Linked DNA regions of Homo sapiens: all the other regions are linked to region 1. The links are contacts of gene promoters, found by promoter capture Hi-C in blood cells and fetal thymus (Javierre and others, 2016). All regions are on one chromosome and are shown on one strand. Each heading gives the region's core, a stretch centred on a gene start or on the middle of the fragment in contact. The rest is flanking DNA. Distances are from core to core; before and after follow the strand shown. Region 1 holds the start of DNAJC30 (DnaJ heat shock protein family (Hsp40) member C30). Region 2 has its middle 12 kb from the start of ELN. Region 3 overlaps FKBP6 (FKBP prolyl isomerase family member 6 (inactive)).

Region 1 (4,077 bases), core at 1,088-3,587:
CGTAGACCTCTTGCGAGGATTTTCCCCTTTTACAGATTCACACTCAGTCCCGAACAGAAACACTTGAGCACCTACAATCTCACAGCCAACTCCCTGCCAACGTCCAGTGACTCACAGTTAAGAGAGCTTCAGCAGCAGCTCTGACCAAAGTGATGACCAACTACTTAACATGAATTAGAAACAGAGCAGAAAAAACACGCCTTTAGCCTGCTCTGCGTAAAGAACCAAGTCTCCACCATGAACACCAAGCCACCAACTCCCCGTCCCTCAGTAGTCCTGTGTACTCCCAAAGCCCCAAAATTTACCCCAGCCTCAAGCAGCCTTGTTTAAAAAATTAAGGAAGGGCCTGTGATAAGCACTGCAAGTTAAACAGAAACAGGGGACTTAAGTGCAGAGTTTGTCACTCTATTTCTGGGAGGGGATGGGCTGCACAGTGTGCAATGGGGCTGGCTGGTAAAGGGAGGACCAGGTGACAGCCAGCCACACTGTCTCAAGGATGAACCTGGCCCTGCTAGCATTATGCTGTAATCCCTGTGGATTAGAACTATGGATAATAGGGCCGGGAGCAGTGGCTCATGCCTGCAATCCCAGCACTTTGGGAGGCTGGACGGGCAGACAGCCTGAGGTCGGCAGTTCGAGACCTCAGTCTGGCCAGCATGGTGAAACCCCGTATCTACTAAAAATACAAAACACTAGCCAGGTGTGGTGGGAGCCTGTAATCCCAGTTACACAGGAGGCTGAGGCAGGAGAATCGCTTGAACCCGGGAGGTGGAGGTTGCAGTGAGCTAAGATCGCACCACTGCACTCCAGCCTGGGCAACAGAGCGCAAGACTCCATCTCAAAAACAAAACAAAACAAAAAACCCCCCAAAAACTATGGATAATAAAGCATGACAGACCTCAAGATGCCAAATGATTTTCTCCTCTGCTGTCATGCCTACAGAGTAACTTCTCCAAGGTCACACATTAAATATGGGCACAGGAACACTCATTCCTTATGCTCAATGACTTTTTCTCACTCCTACATGCTATCAACATAAGGAGGAGTGCCCCAGGGGGCTGACCTTAGCGGGAGGAACGACAGGCTCTCCACCGATCCCATTCTTACCCTGGACCAGGTCTCACCTGCGGCTTGGGGAAGTCACAGAAAGACAAGTTTCGTACAACCCCAGACCTTTTCTTTTGGTAGTCAACAATTGGTCACATTGCACATTTCAAGGTTACAGAGGCCCACCATACACATGCGGGGCAGGAGGAGATAAATCTTGCTTGGGGCTAAACAATAAAGCTACAGCGAGTGTTCCAGAAGTTGACCACATCTGGAAGCAAGAAGACAGACTCTGGAAGAAGCACCCTAGAGACTCCAGGAACCCCCTTCACTCCTGGGCTTTCGGGACTCTACAGCGTGGGGCCTCTTTCTCAGACATCGAAAGGCCTCCTTTTCTGGACCACAGTGGAGCGATGTGCAGGTCATCGGCTAAGCTGGGCGGGTCGGGGAGGGCAGGGGGAGTACAGTTCCTTCGGATCCCAGCAAAGGTAGACTATCAATGGCCAAGGGTTCAGAGGCAGGAAAAAAGGCCGTTTCTGGGGGGTTGGCTGGGGACACTCCCCTTCCCTTCTCTCTCCGATTAAATATAAAAGCCGATGATGATGAAGATTGAAAAGATGAGGAAAATGGCAGCCGTGTCTCGGGTATCCTCCCAGCGGAGGCCTTTCATGGACCGATACTCCTGCCGTTTGCGAAGGGCCTCCCGCCGGGCCCTCAGGCGCCGTTCCCGCTCCAGTTGTTCCCCGTAGTGGGCCTGGTAGAAGGCGTCAAAGTTGAACATCGTGCGGTTGGCGCCGGGGGAGGCCCGAGAACCGTCGTGGGTCCGAGAGGTGGGCGGCGGGGTACGCGGCGAGCCGGGGTCGGGTGCGGGCGTCCTGGAGGGCCGGACGCCAGGTCCGCGCAGGTCCTCGTCGCTGAGTAGGCCGCGATCATACTTGCGACGGAGGGTGGCACTGCCCAGCACCACGTAGGCCTGGGAGATGCGCGTGAAGCGCTCGGCGGCCTCCGCGCTCCCGGAGTTGCGGTCCGGGTGGTAGAGAAAGCACTGACGGTAGTAAGCCGCCTTGATTTGGGCCTGCGTGGCTGTGGAGGGGACGCCGAGCAGATCATACAGCGCCGTGCGCGAATACGAGCAGTCGCCCTGGGAATAAGTCCTCGCTCCTAGGCCCAGGCTGGGTGCAGAATTTTGTGGAAAGCCACGGGCCTGCAGCAACCTCCAAGGTAACAGCCGCTGCCACCATCGCCAGCGCATGGCTGCCATGTTGAATTGATTCGGCAGGCGGTGCAAGAGAAACCGGCCAATGAGAGGAGTCGGTTGGTCGCCCTGTGGCCAGTCACGTAAAGGGGGGGGCGGGGCGGTCGTGGGGGTGGAACATGCGTATTACTAAGCGGTCGCCGGGCTGATGACATAAAAACCGGGTGCCGGCAGGCGCCAGTCGCAGGTGTGCTGCTGAGGCGTGAGAATGGCGTCCCGCGGCCGGCGTCCGGAGCATGGCGGACCCCCAGAGCTGGTAAGTCCCGGGGCCCGCGGACACCCCTCTCCCCACTTCTGCGGCCACCGCGTCTGAATTATTCCTCTACATGCCATTTTCTCTTTTTCGCAGTTTTATGACGAGACAGAAGCCCGGAAATACGTTCGCAAGTGAGGGGAGCCTGAATACTGCGGGGCGTCCGGGGGTCGGGAAGCGGCAAGTTGCCCCTGTTGCTGGCGTTGCCCGGAAAGGCCGTAGAATTTGGGGGTGCGGGAAGGGAAGGACCCGGGTGGGTGCCGATTTCTGTCTCTGGTAAATCAACTTTAAGTTGCCGACCTCTCTGGGCCTCGGTACCTCAGCGTTGAGGTAGGGGTGATCGCGCTTGCTTTCCGTGGGTGGTTTTCAAAGTCGAATGTGACAATTTGTCCTAAACATGTGGTAAAAGAGGCGCTGGGCGGTGGGTACGGGCGAGGGGTCAGTCCTGGTGGGGGGAAGGAAGTAATGGCCGTAGGATGCTTATCGTGGCGCCTTGTTGCCAATAAATCTCCAAGACAGCAGTTGGTGTATTATTGTCTGAATTTCATAGAGGGTAGTTTGTATAACTACTGAGTTGTAGCCAGGTGGGAGTGGCTCACGCGTGTAATCTCAGCAATCGCAGCACTTTGGGAGGCTGAGGCGGGAGGATCGCTTGAGCTCAGGGGTTCGAGACCAGCCTGGGCAACGTAGCGAGCCCCCGTCTCCGCAAGTAATAAAAAAATTAGCCGGGTGTGGTGGCTCCCCTCTGCCTCTCCAGTAGTTGGGACCACAGGCGCGCGCCACTACGCCTGGCTTTTTTTTGTAAATTTTTGTTGCGATGGGGTCTCGCTGTGTTGCCCAAGGTGGCCCAAGCCCAGGGCTCAAGCGATCCTCCCGCCTTCGTCTCCCGAACTGTTGGGATTGCAGGCGTGAGCCAGCGCACCTCGAGTCGTTAAAAAAAAAAAAAAGGGGGGGGGATGGGGGCGGGGGGAAGCTGGCGCGGTGTCTCACGCCTGTAATCGCAACACTTTGGGAGGCTGAGGCAGACGGATCACCTGAGGTCAGGAGTTCGAGACCAGCCTGGCCAACATGGCGAAACTCCAGCTCTACTAAAAATGGAAAAAATTAGCCGGGCGCGATGGCGGGTTTCTGTAACCCCAGCTACTCGGGAGGCTGAGGCAGGAGAATAGCTTGAACCCGGGAGGGGGAGGTTGCAGTGAGCCGACATCACGGCACTGCACTCCAGCCTGGGCGACAGAGCAAGACTTTGTTTCAAAAAAAAAAAAAAAAAAAAAAAAAAAAAAAAAAAAGATACTTTGTGGTTTTTCCGTGCTCTCTCACTGAGAGACTAGCCCTATTTCAGTAAATGGTTACTGGCCGGGCGCTATGGCTCATACCAGTAATCCCAGCCCTGTGGGAGGCGGAGGTGGACGGATCACCTGAGGTCAGGAATTCCGAGACCAACCTGGCCAGCATGGTGAAATCCCGTCTCTACTGAAAATACAGATATTAGCCGGGCCTACGGGAGGCTGAGGCAGGAGAA
Region 2 (4,424 bases), core at 976-3,475, 330 kb after region 1:
AGAAAGTTGAGAACAAAACCCTGGTTCTCCCTCCTGTTACAGGCCTTGATCGAGTCTCTACCATTTCCGAGGCTCAGTGCAAAGCTCCACGTAGAGGATGCAGAAATGAATTTTCTATGGAGCCCCAGGACGGGGCCACACCTCTTTTTACTGCCCCAGTTTCTCCAAACGGCCCTGAACCAGGGATCTGAGCAGGGCTGTAGCTAAGATTTTGCTGAGCAGCTATTTTGTGCTTGCATGCATGCAATGTGCTTGAGCTCCCTGACTCCCTGCCACACCCTCTCTAAGAGATGAGGAAACTGAAGCTCAGGGAGGGTACCTTGCCCAAGGTCAAAGTGCCCAAAGTGGAACAAGAGGGACTTGAACTTGCGCCATGTGGACTCAGAGCCTCTGCTTTTAACCACAGGGGTGTAGTGGGAAGGGGGTGTCTGGGGAAGGGCGTGTCTGGGGAAGGGCGGAAGGTCCTGAGGCCGGCTCAGAGGGAGACAGGCATTGCAGGTGGGCAGAACCAGGGGAGGACCGAATGGTGCTGAATGGTGCCCGAACAGTCTCCAAGGACCATCATAGAAACCCAGGAGCCCCCCTGGTCCATTTCATTAGTGATTTGTGTTTTCACATCTTTTCATTTACAGGCCTTATTTGGGGACCTCTTTCTGCAAAGGTACTTGGAGAGAAACAGTACAACCTCAGAACCCCAGTTACCCACCAACTTCCTTTTTTATTTTCTTTTTTTTTTTTTTTTTTTTTGAGACAGGGTTCAATCTGTCACCCAGGCTGGAGTGCAGTGGCACGATCTCAGCTCACTGCAACCTCCACCTTCCAGGCTCAAGCGATCCTCCAGCCTCAGCCCCGCCAAGTAGCTGAGACTACAGGCACACGCCATTAAGTCTGGCTAATTTTGTGTGTGTGTGTGTGTGTGTGTGTGTGTGTGTGTGTTTTGTAGAAATGGGGTTTTGCCATATTGCCCAGGCTGGTCTCGAACTCCCGGGCTCAAGTGATCCGCCCACCTTGGTCTCCCAAATTGCTGGGATTATAGGCATGAGTCACCACACCTGGCCCCAAGTTCCATTTTTTAAAAATTTTATTATAATCCCACCCCAGGAACAGCTGGCTCACCAGATGGTAAGTGACTATCCCGTGAGATGGCTCCATTAAGTCCATACATTGAATATTGGAGTCAAGGGAGAAACGCAGAATTAGGCAGACATCAGACTAGATTGGATTCACCATCATATTCTCAATGCTCAGCACAGGAACAGAAATTAGTAGTTGCTAAATCAATATTTGCTGAATAAACAAGTAAGTGCCTTTCTGTTAAATGGGTAATAGCCAAGCTTCTAAACTATCTTATTATCATTATTATTATTTTTTTTCTTTTAGAAACAGAGACTCACTCTGTTGCCCAGACTGGAGCGCAATGACGTAGTCATGACTCACTGCAGCCTTGAGCTCCTGGACTCAAGTGAGCCTCCTACCTCAGCCTCCTGCATGGCTGGAGTACAGGCATATACCACCATACCCAGCTAATTGTTTTGTTTGTTTTTTGCAGAGATGGGGGTTTCGCTATGTTGCCCACGCTGATCTCTAACTCCTGGCTTCAAGGAATCCTCCCACATCAGCCTCCCAAAGTGCTGGGATTACAGGCGTGAGCCACTGCGCCCAGACAAACCATCTCTGTTAATTGATGCCTGAGTACCATTGAATGAATCATTTAAACTCTACTTTGGATTAATCCTAATAAGGGATTTAGACTAGATCAGGGTCATTTAAGACACAAAGTATAGGCCATACCTCCCACTTCTTGCTCCCAGCAGACATGACCCATTGACTGTGTGATTCCCGTCTGCTGAGACTGGATATCCTCAGAATCCTTCTTAACACCACTTCTGATGGCCATTGCCCATCAAACACAGTTGGTGACGGAACCTATCTGCCATACTGGTTGGAATGAGCTCCCCCAGCCCATTAAAGAGAGAGGCAGCTGAGAGAAATCCAGGCTGTAGGGAGAGTTTAGGGAGGAGTAAGGAGGGACTAGATAAGATGCTCTTTTTTTTTTCTTTTTTCTTTTCTTTTTTTTTTTTTTTTTTGAGAAGGAGTCTCCGTCTGTCACCCAGGCTGGAGTGCACTGGCACGATCTCGGCTCACTGCAACCTCCACCTCCCATGTTCAAGTGATTCTCCTGCCTCAGCCTCCCAAGCAGCTGGGACTATAGGCATGTGCCACCATGCCTGGCTAATTGTATTTTTAGTAGAGACGAAGTTTCACCTTGTTGGCCAGGCTGGTCTCGAACTCCTGACCTCAAGCAATCTGCCTCAGCCTCCCAAAGTGCTAGGATTACAGGCGTGAGCCACCTCACCCAGCCAGGGCTCTTTAAAGATTCCTAATTCCGGGCTGGGCACAGTGGCTCACACCTATAATCCCAGCACTTTGGGAGGCTGAGGGGGGCGGATCGCTTGAGGTCAGGAGTTCAAGACCAGCCTGGCCAACATGGCGAAACCCCATCTCTACTAAAAATACAAAAGTTAGCGGGGCACAGTGTCAGGCACCTGTCATCCCAGCTACTTGGGAGGCTGAGGCAGGAGAATCATTTGAACCCAGAAGATGGAGGTTGCAGTGAGCCGAGATCGCACCACTGCACTCCAGCCTGAGTGACAGAGTGAGAGTCTGTCTCAAAAAAAAAAAAAAAAAAGAAAAGAAAAGAAAAAGAAAGAGAGATTCCTTATTCTGGTCTGGGGACCCTCAGAGTTCCATGAATGGGTGAGCTTCTCCACCACCAGGAGAGGGAACACAAAAACCCACATGGAGAAAGGATGGTGGCCCCCAGCTTGCTGCCTGAATCCTAACAGGCGTTGGAACCAGCTCTCAGCCTGAAAACCACAGGCAGCTCAGAGCTTTTATTAATTCCAGGGGCTGGAGGAAGGGCTGGGGCCCTCGAAAGAGGCTGTGCAGCTGACGACCCAGGAGGGAAGAGTTTTTTTTCCAAACGCTGAGGCCACCACGCTTTGGGAAGGGTGAGGGTAGACAGGCCAAGTCCTGGCTCTGGGGGGATTTAAAATGCTGTGTCAACGTAGGTCATAGACCTAATTGTGAAAGGGAAAACTGTAATGTTTCTAAAATAAAGCTTAACAGATTATCTTCATGACCTTCAGGTGGGCACAGATTTCTTAAACAGGACAGATGAAGCACTAACCCCTAGAGAAAAGACGGATACATTTGACTTTGTTAAAATTAAGGAATTGTAGTCATCAAAAGACAGCATTAAAAGTAAGGCAAGCCAGGCAGGGTGGCTCATGCTCATAATCCCAGTGCCTTGAGAGGCCAAGGTGGGAGGATCGCTTGAAGCCAGGAGTTCAAGGCCAACCTGGGCAACATAGCAAGACCCCCATCTCTACAAACAATCAAAATAAATATAAATAAAGGCAAGCCAAAGATTGAGAGAAGATCTTTCTCACACAGATAGCTAACTGCAGAATTGTATCAACATAAAGAACTCCACGCATCATAAGGAAATATCAATCCTATTTTCAAAAATGTGCATAAGACGTAAAAAGTCACTTCACAAACAAGGATAATCAAATGCCCAAAAAGCGTGTGAGAAAGTGTGCGCCATCATTACTCATCAGGGAAATTAAAGTTAAAATCACACTGGGAGCCCAGCGCAGAGGCTCCCGCCAGTAATCACAGCACTTCGGGAGGCCAAGATGGGAGGATCACTTGAGGCCAGAAGTTTGAGACCAGCCTGGGCAACATAATGAGACCCCAAGTCCAAAAAATTTAAAAAGTAGCCGGGCGTGTTGGTGCACACCTGTAGTCCCAGCTACTCGGGAGACTGAGGCGGGAGGATCACTTGAGCCCGGGAGGCTGAGGCTGCAGTAAGCTATGATAGCACCACTGCACTGCAGCCTGGATAACAGAGCAAGACCCTGTCTCAAAAATAAATAAAATACTCTTATGAGTTGCATTAGCAGTTGCGTGAGCAGATGTCATCTGGCAAAAGTCAACATGACAACATGCACACACAGTGCCTCACATCCACAGATATACTGACACAGAGACACACACAGACACACTCACCCTCACTGCTACATCCCCAGCAGGCTTCAATCTCCTCTGGGAGGGGCAGGGGGCAGGAGGAAGACCATCCAGGCTGCCCCGGTGATTTCAAGGAGAGAGCACAAGGCAGAGAAAAGCAGTGTCTGCCCAGAGCCAAAAGCCAAAACCTGCATGAGGGGCCAGGGGGACCACCCCACTGAGCATGCTTCTTCCTCTGGGAGCTGGCAGGAGAGTTCAGGCAGCTGGATCTCTTCTGGATAAACAATGTAATGCAAACCCAGGGAATGAGAGCCTCAGACCCTGCAGGAGTAGACCCCGGGGTGCAGAGAAAGATGCAGACAAGAACATGGGGAGATGGACAGAGAGGGAGA
Region 3 (4,409 bases), core at 1,792-4,291, 340 kb before region 1:
GGTATGTGCCTAGGAGTGCAATTGCTGGATTGTGTGGGAACTGTCAAAATTTTTGAGGAACTGCCAAACTGCTTCCTACAGCAGCTGTACCATCTTACATTCCCACGAGTAATGTGCGAAGCTTCCAATTTCTCCACATCTTCACCAACACTTATTTTATATTTTTAAAGTTAGGCATCTTAGCGGATGTGAAGTGGTATCTCACTGTGGTTTTGATTTGCATTTCCCTGATGACTGATGACATTGGACATATTTTCATGCATTTAATGACTATTTGTCTATCTTCTTTGGAAAAATGTCTATTCGGAGTCTATGCATATCTGAAAGTTGGGTCATCTGTCTTTGTACTGAGGAGTAAATGTTGCTGCTGTGCTCTGGATACTACACCCTCAACAAACACAGGATGCGCAAATGCTCTATGCTGTTCTGTGGGCTGTCTGCACTTTCTTTGCAGTGTCCATTGAAACACAAAAGTTTTACATTTTGATGAAGTCTAATTCTTTGCTTATTTGTGCTTTTGGTGTTATATCTAAGAAACCATTTTCTAATCCAGGGTCACAAAAATTTACACCTATTTGTACTTCTAAAGTCTGATAGTTTTTTAAAAAAATATATGAAATGCTTTATGAATTTGCATGTCATCTTTGCACAGGGGCCATGCGATCTTCTCCCTGTCTTTCCAATTTTTAGTATATGTGCTGCCGAAGCCAGCGCAGAGTCTTAGAGTTTTAACTCCTACTTTTAGGGCTATGCTCCACTTTAGTTAATTTTTGCATCTAGTGCAAGGTAAACATTCTTTTGCATGTTGATAGTCTCTCGTCCCAGCATTATTTGTTGAAAAGACAGTTCTCTCCCATTGAATGGTCTGGACACCCTTATTGAAAATCAGTTGACTGTAGATATATAAATCTATTTCTGGACTCTGTGTTCAATTTCATTGATCTACATGTCTGTCCTTATGCCGGTGCTACACTGGCGTAATTACTGTAGCTTTAGGAAGTTTCGTGTTTTTTGTTTATTTTTTGTCTTTTAGTAAGTTTTGAAATGGGAAATATGAGTTCTCCAGCTTTGTCCTTTCTCAAGAGTATTTTGGCTATTCAGGGTCCTTTGAATTTCCATGTGACTCTTTTTTTTTTTTTTTTTTTGAGGTGGAGTCTTGCACTGTCACCTAGGCTGGAGTGCAGTGGTGTGGTCTCGGTTCACCACAACCTCCGCCTCCCATGTTCAAGTGATTCTCCTGCCTCAGCCTCCAATGTAGCTGGAATTACAGGCACCTGCCACCACACCCAGCTGATTTCGTATTTTTAGTAGAGATGGGGTTTCACCATGTTGGCCAGACGGGTCTCGAACTCCCGACCTCAGGTGATCTGCCCGCCTCAGCCTCCCAAAGTGCTGGGATTACAGGCATGAGCCACTGTGCCTGGCCACCATATGAATTATCTAATCAACTTGTCTGTGTCTACAAAAAAGGCTGTTGAAATTTTGGTAGGGTTGCATGAATATGTTGACCAGTTAGGAAAATATTACCATCTTAATATTGTCTTCCAATTAATGAACATGAGATATTTTTCCATTTTATTTGAATCATCTTTAATTTCTTTCAACAACCATTTTGTAGTTTTCAGTGTGCAAGTCTTTCAGTTGTTTTAAGTTTATTGCTACTTACTGTATTCTTTTTGATGCTATTGTAAATGGAGTTGTTTTCTTAATTTCATTTTTGGGTAGTTCGTTGCTAGAGCATAGAAATATACCTGACTTTTGGCCGGGCATGGTGGCTCACGCCTGTAATCCCAACACTTTGGGAGGCTGAGGCAGGTGGATCACGAGGTCAGGAGATCGAGACCATCCTGGCCAAAATGGTCATATTAAAATATGAAAAAATTAGCCGGGCATGGTGGTGCACACCTGTAGTCCCAGCTACTCAGAAGGCGGAGGTTGCAGTGAGCTGAGATCACTCCAGCCTGGCGACAGAACAAGACTCCGTCTGAAAAAAGAAGAAAAAAGAAATATACCTGACTTCTTATGTTGATCTTGTGTCTTGCAACCTGTAACAGCCGATTTTTAGCTCTGATAGTTTTTGCGTGTGGATTCTTTAGGGTTTTGTACATAAGACTGTTACTCCTCTTGACCATCTGCCTTCCCTCTCCACAGGCCCTATTGCTTCTGCGCCGGCGATCAGCACCCCCTGAAGAGCAGCACCTGGTGGAGGCCGCCAAGCTTCCTGTTCTCCTGAACCTGTCCTTTACATACCTGAAGCTAGACCGACCCACCATAGCCCTGTGCTATGGAGAGCAGGCTTTGATCATTGACCAAAAGAATGCCAAGGCCCTCTTCAGGTGTGGACAGGTGAGTTGGAAGCCAGTGACTTGGGAATAAACACCCAGGAAAAGGTAGTAGCAGTGCTCAACTCAGCTACTGCAAAAATGCTGTCTTTTTTTTTTTTTTTTTTTTTTTTAGACAGAGTTTTGCTCTTGTTGCCCAGGATGGAGTGCAGTGGCGCAAATTCGGCTCGCTGCAACCTCCGCTTCCTGGCTTCAAGCAATTTTCCTGCCTCAGCCTCTCAAGTAGCTGGGATTACAGGCATGCGCCATCACACCCAGCTAATTTTTGTAGTTTTAGTAGAGATAGGGTTTTGCCGTGTTGGCCAGGCTGGTCTGGAATCCCTGACCTCAGTTGATCCGCCCGCCTTGGCCTCCCAAAGTGCTGGGATTACAGGCATGAGCCACCGTGCCCAGCCAAATGATATCTTTTCTAACTGTGCTTTTAAAGTTCTCTCCTTGGGACAGGCTTGTCTTCTCCTGACTGAGTATCAAAAGGCCCGGGATTTTCTAGTTCGAGCCCAGAAGGAGCAACCCTTCAATCATGACATCAATAATGAGCTGAAGAAACTGGCTAGGTGAGCTGTGTTTGCAGGAGCATGAAGAGAGATGGGTGGGGTTGTGACTCTGGTCTGTCCCCCCACCCCCCCCAACAAAGGACAGTCTGGCGGTGTTGCCCAGAGTGTTAGGAGGCCGCCCCCTCTACAGCTGGGTTTCTGAAGTGCTCGGCCGTGCGCTGCACCAGCAGTTCCCAGCAAGCAGGTGAGACAGACTGCCAGACTATACATCTCCATCATCGCCCACCTTTCTGTTTCCCCTACCGCAAATAAACAACCCCTAGAGAGGTGGGAGGGTGTCACTTTTTTTTTTTTTTTTTGAGATGGAGTCCCTCTCTGTCACCTAGGCTATAGGGCAATGGCATGATCTCGGCTCACTGCAACCTCCGCGTCCCGAGTTCAGACGATTCTCCTGTCTCAGCCTCCAAGGTAGCTGGGATTACAGGCGTGTACCACCACATCTGGCTAATTGTTTTTGTATTTTAGTTGAGACAGGGTTTCACCGTGTTGACCAGGCTGGTCTCAAACTCCTGACCTCAGGTGATCCCCCCACCTCGTCCTTCCAAAGTGCTGGGATTACAGGCACAAGCCACCACAACTGGCCCCGGTGTCACTTAAAAAGAGTCTTCTGGTGCGCTCTTCCCTGCGTGCTCCACCAAGAACCACTGCTCCTAACCAAGTGCAGAAAGGCCCCTCGTAGGTCCTCATGTGACCAGAAACAGGCGTTTCGGGTCTGACTCATACCCATGGATTGACCTCCTTGTTACCCACGTGACTAAGCACACCAGTCTTTTAGTGATGTAATTTTTTCTCATTATAGAAGTTTTGTGTCCATTGTAGAAAACCTTGAAAATGTCTACCTATAAATAGGAGTCCCCCATAACTCCATCACTTGGTAATAGGTCCATGGTTTTTAAGGTATATCTTCTTCTGTAATGGTGAAATTCTCTACTTGTCTTAATATTAAACATTCGGTCCAGATTGCTAGTTAAAGCTTGCTTGGCATTAGTGTCTGAGATGTGAGTATCTCTTAGGTTACATTTCAAGCCTTTTAGGACTTGCCAGCAATTTCCTTTCTGGTATTTAAAAGTATCCTGTCAGATCTGGTCATTCTTTAGTGAGAAAATCAGGAGAGGTTAGAGGCTGCTGAGGGTGAGGGGTCGTTTGGCGAGACTCAGCCCGGAGCCTGGTGGCCAGAGGCACCTGCCCTTCAAGGCAGCTGTCCTTTCCAGTTAGGGGGTTTTGTCCAGGGGCTTGGCTCCTTGGCCAGCTGTGGGAGCCTTCCCTGCCTCCCCACCTCTCCAGCTTACTTCCATCCCTCCCAACTCAGTTTGAGTCCTGATAAATTTTCAGTGTTTCTGGATGTGAGTGGAGAATTCCAGCCACCAGATGTCACCTCCTCCAAACACAGACCTCCTCTAACAAGTGTGTATTTCCCTCTCCAGCTGTTACAGGGACTATGTGGATAAAGAGAAAGAAATGTGGCACCGCATGTTCGCGCCCTGTGGCGATGGTTCTACAGCAGGAGAAAGTT

Evidence for each region. The method cuts DNA at HindIII sites, captures the fragments that hold promoters and counts their contacts. A CHiCAGO score of 5 or more calls a contact.
Region 2: a fragment that was not itself captured here is called in contact with the fragment with the promoter of DNAJC30 in region 1 in 3 of 17 cell types (M0 macrophages, endothelial precursors and erythroblasts); the score reaches 5.9 in M0 macrophages.
Region 3: a fragment that was not itself captured here is called in contact with the fragment with the promoter of DNAJC30 in region 1 in 1 of 17 cell types (erythroblasts); the score reaches 5.0 in erythroblasts.

The regions. Positions count from the first base shown.
Region 1 is chr7:73,681,116-73,685,192 of GRCh38, forward strand. DNAJC30 (DnaJ heat shock protein family (Hsp40) member C30) reads right to left here and starts at 2,338. Exons shown (of 1, transcript NM_032317.3): 1 at 1-2,338. The coding sequence starts at 2,308. The coding sequence ends at 1,628. It overlaps BUD23 (BUD23 rRNA methyltransferase and ribosome maturation factor), which reads left to right and starts at 2,482. Exons shown (of 12, transcript NM_017528.5): 1 at 2,482-2,558; 2 at 2,652-2,689. The coding sequence starts at 2,511. RefSeq lists enhancers at 1,760-1,849, 2,090-2,259, 3,190-4,039, 4,040-4,077. The HindIII fragment of the contact is 21,940 bases long and covers 1-4,077 here.
Region 2 is chr7:74,014,426-74,018,849 of GRCh38, forward strand. No RefSeq gene overlaps it. Among named protein-coding and RNA genes, the nearest start is that of ELN, 12 kb to the right of the region's middle. The HindIII fragment of the contact is 1,787 bases long and covers 1,333-3,119 here.
Region 3 is chr7:73,338,487-73,342,895 of GRCh38, forward strand. It overlaps FKBP6 (FKBP prolyl isomerase family member 6 (inactive)), which reads left to right. Exons shown (of 9, transcript NM_003602.5): 6 at 2,152-2,346; 7 at 2,787-2,896; 8 at 4,321-4,409. It also overlaps the pseudogene RNU6-1080P. Among named protein-coding and RNA genes, the nearest start is that of FKBP6, 13 kb to the left of the region's middle. RefSeq lists an enhancer at 3,629-4,409. The HindIII fragment of the contact is 1,652 bases long and covers 2,216-3,867 here.